2 separate regions of the Homo sapiens genome follow, and region 1 is linked to region 2. Evidence: promoter capture Hi-C in 16 types of primary human blood cells and fetal thymus (Javierre and others, 2016). All regions are on one chromosome and are shown on one strand. The core of a region is centred on a gene start or on the middle of the fragment in contact, and the rest is flanking DNA. Distances in the headings are between cores, read along the strand shown. Region 1 has its middle 10 kb from the start of FOXO1. Region 2 holds the start of COG6 (component of oligomeric golgi complex 6).

What was found. Contacts are between HindIII fragments. The CHiCAGO score rates a contact against its expected background, and 5 or more counts as called.
Region 1: a contact is called between a fragment that was not itself captured here and the fragment with the promoter of COG6 in region 2, in 2 of 17 cell types (fetal thymus and M0 macrophages). The highest score is 7.7, in fetal thymus.

The regions. Positions count from the first base shown.
Region 1 is chr13:40,674,937-40,678,677 of GRCh38, reverse strand. No RefSeq gene overlaps it. Among named protein-coding and RNA genes, the nearest start is that of FOXO1, 10 kb to the right of the region's middle. The HindIII fragment of the contact is 398 bases long and covers 2,140-2,537 here.
Region 2 is chr13:39,654,395-39,657,843 of GRCh38, reverse strand. COG6 (component of oligomeric golgi complex 6) reads right to left here and starts at 2,182. Exons shown (of 19, transcript NM_020751.3): 1 at 1,965-2,182. The coding sequence starts at 2,117. RefSeq lists a silencer at 1,869-1,918. The HindIII fragment of the contact is 8,496 bases long and covers 1-3,449 here.

The sequences.
Region 1 (3,741 bases), core at 1,089-3,588, 1.0 Mb before region 2:
GGCTGGGCACAGTGGCTCATGCCTGTAATTCCAGAACTTTGGGAGGCAGCAGCATGAGAATCATTTGAGGTAAGGAGCTCGAGACCAGCCTGGCCTAGATGGCGAAACCCAGTCTCTATTAACAATACAAAATTGGCCGGGCGTGGTGGCTCATGCCTGTCATCCCAGCACTTTGGGAGGCCAAGGCGGGCAGATCACCTGAGGTCAGGAGTTCTAGACCAGCCTGACCAACATGGTGAAACCCCATCTCTACTAAAAACAAAAAATTAGCTGGTTGTGGTGGCACGCACCTATAGTCCCAGCTACTTGGGAGGCTGAGGCAGGAGAATCGCTTGAACCCAGAGGCAGAGGTTGCAGTGAGCAGAGATCGCGCCACCACACACTCCAGCCTGGGCAACAGAGCGAAATGCATCTCAAAAAAAATTTTTTTAATAAAAAAATAAAAAATAGGCCAGGCTTGGTGGCTCGTGCCTATAATCCCAGCACTTTGGGAGGCCGAGGTGTGTGGATCACTTGAGGTCAGGAGTTTGAGACCAGCATGGCCAACATAGTGAAACCTCGTCTCTACTAAAAATACAAAAAAATAGCCGGGCGTGGTGGCTCACGCCTGTAATCCCAGCACTTTGGGAGGCCGAGGCGGGTGGATCATGAGGTCAGGAGATCAAGACCATCCTGGCTGACACGGTGAAACCCCGTCTCTACTAAAAAAATACAAAAAATTAGCCAGGCATGGTGGCGGGCGCCTGTAGTCCCAGCTACTCAGGAGGCTGAGGCAGGAGAATGGCGTGAACCCGGGAGGCGGAGCTTGCATTGAGCCGAGATCGTGCCACTGCACTCCAGCCTGGGCGACAGAGCAAGACTCTGTCTCAAAAAAAAAAATAATAATAATTAGCTGGGCGTGGAGGCAGGCGCCTGTAATCCCAGCTACTCCGGAGGCTGAGGCAGGAGAATCGCTTGAACTCAGGAGGCAGAGGTTGCAGTGAGTGGAGATCACGCCATTGCACTCTGGCCTTGGCAACGAGAGTGAAACTCAGTCTCAAAAAAATAAATAAATAAAAATAAAAAATAATGCTTTCATTATGACCTGTTTAAGAATTGATCATCAAAGGTAGAACTAAGAATGTCCTTGCTAATTAAGAAAAAAACAAAACCCTTTCACACCTTTAAATGTTTTTTGGTAACATTTACAATATAAATTTTTATCCTGACTGTGTAATTTTAGCAGCTTCTTTTTTTTTAAATTTCAGGTTTTCCTGGTTTCTAATTTAAGATGTTTCCATGGTTCTCATCAATTTTTGTTTATTAGTGACTAAATTTGTTGTATATTTTAATTGGGCTGTGAAAATAAGGTGGCATTTATGATATCTTTTAATAGAATCATCGTGTGTACACACAGTTGACACGTGGTTTTACAGTACAACTGCCAAGAATAACTAATCTAGGAATAACTGCAGAATCTGCCTTGTTAGAAATAATTCGTCTACATGAAAAGACATGAGTACTTTTTAATTTTAAAAGTGAACATTAAAATTAGGCTATTGCCTTCTTCCTAAGTAAGAATTTAACTAGTCTTAAAAAAAGAAATCACAGCTAGGCGTAGTGGCTCATGCCTGTATCCCCAGCACTTTGGGAGGCTGAGGCGGGTGGATCACCTGAGGCTAGGAGTTCAAGACCAGCCTGGCCATCATGGCAAAACCCTGTCTCTACTAAACATACAAAAAATTCACAGCGCGTGGTGGCAGGTGCCTGTAATCCCAGCTACTCAGGAGGCTAAGGCAGGAGAACTGCTTGAACCCGGGAGGTGGAGGTTGCAGTGACCCGAGATAGCGCCATTGCACTCCAGCCTGGGCAACAAGAGCAAAACTCCGTCCCAAAAAAAAAAAGATATCAAACCCAGAAAAACAGATCCCAGACTTAGAAGCCATTATATTCCAATTCCCTTCAAGTCATCTACTTTTTGTTGTTATTGCCGTTCTATATGTTTTGCTTTTCTGAGTTAATTTTGTAAGATTTTAAAATTTTTATGAGACAGTCACTTGTCTCCAAATTTTGTTTCTTCTTCTTCTTCTTCTTCTTTTTTTTTTTTTAAAGAGACAGGGTCTCACTATGTTGCCCAGGCTGGACTCGAACTCCCAAGCTTCAACAATCCTCCCACCCCAGCCTCCCAAAGTGCTGGGATTACAGGCATGAGCCACCACGCCCGGCCCCAGGTTTTGTATTTCTTAAAGCAACATCTAACTCTTACAAAATACGTTGGGGTGTCTGAGTGGGTTCAGTTTTTGAGAATTTTGTCCAAAAGAAGAGACACAGAAAACCAAAGGATACATTGTATAAATTCTCTTTTGCAATTATTTTAGAGAAATTTGCATGATTGTTAAAGTTGTTGTGCTGCTTTCTATGATAATATTATCTGTCAAGCCGAAGCTACCAGTACCATTGTCAGCTAAACTCCTGAAATGAGTCAGCTAATTTTATTTTTAACTGCTTTTTAATTGCCTGCTGAGACTATCAAGAATAATATGAGGATTTTTAAAGCTTTTCTAGCAACATTTTGGTATATCAGATCGTATAAAAAGATAGATCAAAGATTCAAAATTCTCAACTTACTTCCATGTAAAACTCATAGCAGCTAGGTGCAATGGCTCACACCTGTAATCCCAGTATTTTGGGAGGCTGAGATGGGAGGATTGCTTAAGGCCAGGAGTTCCAGACCAGCCTGGGCAACATAGGGAGATCCCATCTCTACAGAAAATTTAAAAATTAGTTGGGCGTGGTGGCAAGCATCTGTAGTCTTAACACCTAGGGAGGCTGAGGTGGGAGGATCACTTGAGCCCAGGAGTTCGAGGCTGTAGTGAGCTATGATCGCACCACTGCAACTCCAGCCTGTATTACAGAGCAAGACCTTGTCTCTAAAAAAAAAAAAACCAAAAAACCAACCATAACAACAATAACAAAAACCCTCAAAGCTGTAGAGCATGAATAGGTAGTAACAATCCCTGAAATTAGAGGCCTTCCTAAACTCTTGCTATGATGTGCCATGATTATACATATTATCTCTAAATTCACAAAGGACCAGTTGGATTTGGCAACCAATGTGCCTAACACGTGAATGTGGAGGAGCTATGGTACAATTTAGAACAAATATCAATGATTTAGAAATCACGTATTTACCAGAGTTAAAGTAATTTGTATACTAACAAAAACCTACCCACGAGGTTGTACCAATGTCAGAGAACAAACATTTTATCCCTGTTTCAAAGTGCTTTAAGACATTATTTTAATCCTTACAATACCTCTTTGAGGTATGTAGGTGGCAAGTCATACCAAAATAAAAATTCAAAATACAAAATAAATGGAACACTACTTAGGGAATAAAAGAGGTTCTAGTTGATCATGCGTTGTTGATTTTCTGCTTTTCTTGGAAGATCTGTTTGTGATTTCACTTTATCATATTTTGCATAGAGGACCAACATCATGGCAAACTTGATGAGGGGTTGTTATGATCTGTAAAGAGCCTCTGTGTTCCCATTGCCTTCTCCTCACCCCAGTCATGGCTGGAGATGACCGAGGGACTCTGGGTGTGCTGTCATGTCCAGAGGACAGCAGGGAGGGAGAGGGGGAAGCATTCTTTTCCTTCTCCACCCTACTTCCCCAGACCTCTGCCAGGCTCCTAATTTGACTGTGTGTACAATGAAAAGGGAAAATCAAATAATGAGTCAAATATATAGATACTAAAGAAGA
Region 2 (3,449 bases), core at 933-3,432:
AATCATGCTTTTTGCTACTTAAAACCATGAAAGTACAAGATTTTTCTTACAGAGAAAACATGAATGGAAGAGAGAGCAGAGAACCAAGCCCAGGACATCCCCATTGTACACTAAATTCTGCAGATATACATTTCTACACCTCCACTACTGTATATTCTAGTAGGCTTACCCTTTCATGTTTCTATTTGTTATTTTGAAATATTGGCTGGATTGACAAAAACAGTAAAACTATTTATATAAATTCAATTTAATATTTCAGAGGAAGCAAAAATATGTTTACAACTATAAATACTTACTGTACAGAAAAAAAAAACCCATGAAGTGAAGCAGTTTCTTTAGACTATAGCCTTGAAATGTCCTAAGGTCTGGTTCAAAGAAGTAATCAGTAATGTTGAACGAATGAAATCACAGACTCAGATGCAAATTACAGTTCCACCAGTTACTAGTTATATGACAACCTAGCTGCACTCTCTCCATGCTTTATTTTCCTCATGGTAAAAAGAAGGTTATGTGGCCGGGCGCAGTGGTTCACGCCTTGTAATCCCAGCACTTTGGGAGGCTGAGGCGGGCAGATCACCTGAGGTCAGGAGTTCAAGACCAGCCTGACCAACATGGAGAAACCCCGTCTCTAATAAAAATACAAAATTAGCCAGGCGTGGTGGCACATGCCTGTAATCCCAGCTACTTGGGAGGCTGAGGCAGGAGAATCGCTTGAACCCGGGAGGCAGAGGTTGCAGTGAGCCGAGACTGCGCCCATTGCACTCCAGCTTGGGCAAAAAGAGCAAAACTCTGTCCAAAAAAGAAGGCCATGTTATCTATATCAGAGCAAGTAGCAGTCTTAAATGATATAATAAATATCAATATGAGACACATTAAACACTTCATAAATTTTATGATAAAATTAATATTTGTTAAGAAAGAGTAAGTGCCAGGCTCTTTGCAAAGGACTTTACCTGGAGTCTCTCACTGAGTCCTCAAATAACAACCATGAGAAACTTAACAGCAGGATTCCTAATTCCTAAACAGAAGCTGAGATTAGTGAAGGGACTTACTCAAATCATGATGCACACATTTAGTGGTTCTATCTAATAAGTGGTAGTCTCCAGAGCCCTAATTTCTTATTCATTACATTGCAATGTTATTTTTTTACATATCGGAATCAAATTGTTATCGACAGCTTATTTTCAGTTACCTACATATTCACCTATAAAACTCTCTAACTTTGACATATGTTCTTCTTTATGTTACACTGTCATGACCAATTTACCTAGCGACCCACAGAGACAGAAGAGATGGCTGGGTATGTGAGGAGCTGTAAAGTCCAACTTAAGTTTCAGGAGGTACTTGTGAGAGCATGCTGTCAGTTTATCTTCTAAAGAAATACAGCCTGAGCCCACAAATCATAGCGCTTGGCTCAACAAAAACTAGTAGATATGAGTTCATTTCAGCCACGGGCAAAGGTAGTTCTTTCGCGCTGCAAATTATTGCAATTGTTGTCACTTGTCCGTGGAAATGCACCCTTATCCCTACCACTGCTCTCTTGGTCTCCCGACCCCCATTTGCGCTACCTTATCTTGGAATCTGCTCTTTTGCATCTGTTTCATATCCAGTCTTGTGCTCTCCTCCACTCTCCCAGCTCACACAGCCAAACGCCTCCAGGGGTGTTTGGAGGACACTTCTCGAGGCACCACCGTTCACCAATCCCATCCAGAGAGCCTTGAAGGCACCTTTTCAGGTGGAGAGAACACCCAGGAAACCCCTTCGCTTTTCCGGAGGTTGCTGGGGCTCCCCCTTCTCACCGCCCCCGGCGCCCGCAGAGCAGCGGAGCCCGCAGGTCTGGGGTCACTCGCGGTCCCTCTGCTGCCGGGACGAGGGAGACCGCGGTGGGTCCCTGACAGACGCCGCCCCTGGCCCGGCTCAGCCCCGCAGGAACCTGTGACTCCGGCCCCGCCAGCCCCGGTTACCTTGTCGTTGTCCAGCCGCGTCTCCAGGATCTTATGCAGCTTGCGCGACAGCGGGTTGCAGGTCGTCGCCGAGGTCCCGCCTGCCCCATTGTTGAGGCCGTTGGCAGCCCCGGTCGCAGACACTGCGACCACTTCCCCGCTGCCCTCTGCCATAGCGCTGCGCGTCCCGCCCCCTGCTGCCACCTCAGCCAGGCAGGGACCACGGAGGCAGCGCGAGTATTGCGCATGTGCAAATCGGCCGCGCATGCGCATCGGCCCCGGAAGTCTTCGCCGGGTAACCCTGCTTGGGCTCTCAGAAGCGTGAGGGGCGGAGAAGATGTGGGGGGCGGGACAAGACCCTCAGGTAGAAGGAGAAAATTTATAGGATTAGAGAGGACTTTGGAATTATGGATCTGCGACCTTCAGAGCTAATTAGATGACAACCAAATGTAGTATGTAAAATACACCATGACTTGTGCCTGGCATATACATTCAATATAAGTTAACTGAAAGTTTAAATTACATTTGCCTTATCTGAATTCATTTTTTTGAAAATTATTTATTGAAGGCATAGTATGTGCCAGGTACTCTGGTAGGCATTGGAGAATCTACATTGTGTGTCTGAAACAGACAAAGCTGTTAATAGATGTTATTAGGTTGTGATGAGTGCTCAGGGGATGAAGTAGTACAGTGAAAGAAAATGGAGGGAAAGGCCCACTTCACTCAGGGAGGTTTGGAGAGGAGTTGACACTTAAACTGAGATTTGAAGGAGAATCAGAATGTGAGGAGAAATCATTCCCAGGCAGAAGAAAGTGTGTAAGTGTACAGGCCTCAAAACAAGATGAACTTGGCCCTGACACAAATGGACCAGAGCCCATGTAGCTGTAAAGTAATGGATAAAAATGTAACAAGTTGAAAAAACTTCCCGGGAAACTCTGGAAAACAAACATCATTGCTTTTTTTCTTTCTTTTCTCAGTTTTTAAAATTTGGATCAAAATAAAATCGCTGGGCTTCTGTGAATTATTTGTCAGAAACACTATTTGGCTCTTGTCATAAATTTTCCTTGTTTCATATATGTCTATGTACATAGTTATATTGTATATCAGACTTAAGGGAAAATTACCTATTACAGAGGTCACATAAAGAAAGCACTGACAAAACCACTCATCTCTACTCTAATGAAGAAGAGAAGGCCCAACTATCCAAAAGAAAAAAATATACAAAAAGCAGCAATATCTAGGTATGAATTCAACAAAAAATACAGAGAACCTAGATGAAGAAAACTTTAAAATGCTACTGGGAGAACATAAAACTTAAATCAATGAAAAAATATATTGTTCTCTTCAACAGGAAGACTCAATATTGTAAGATGTCTTTTCTCTTTCACAGATAAATTTAAGTTCAGTGTAACCAAAATTAAAATATCAAAGGTTTACCTAAGGTGTATATATCCAAATGAATTTGCATATATACAAAGCAATAATATAATGTAGAGCTTGCAAATA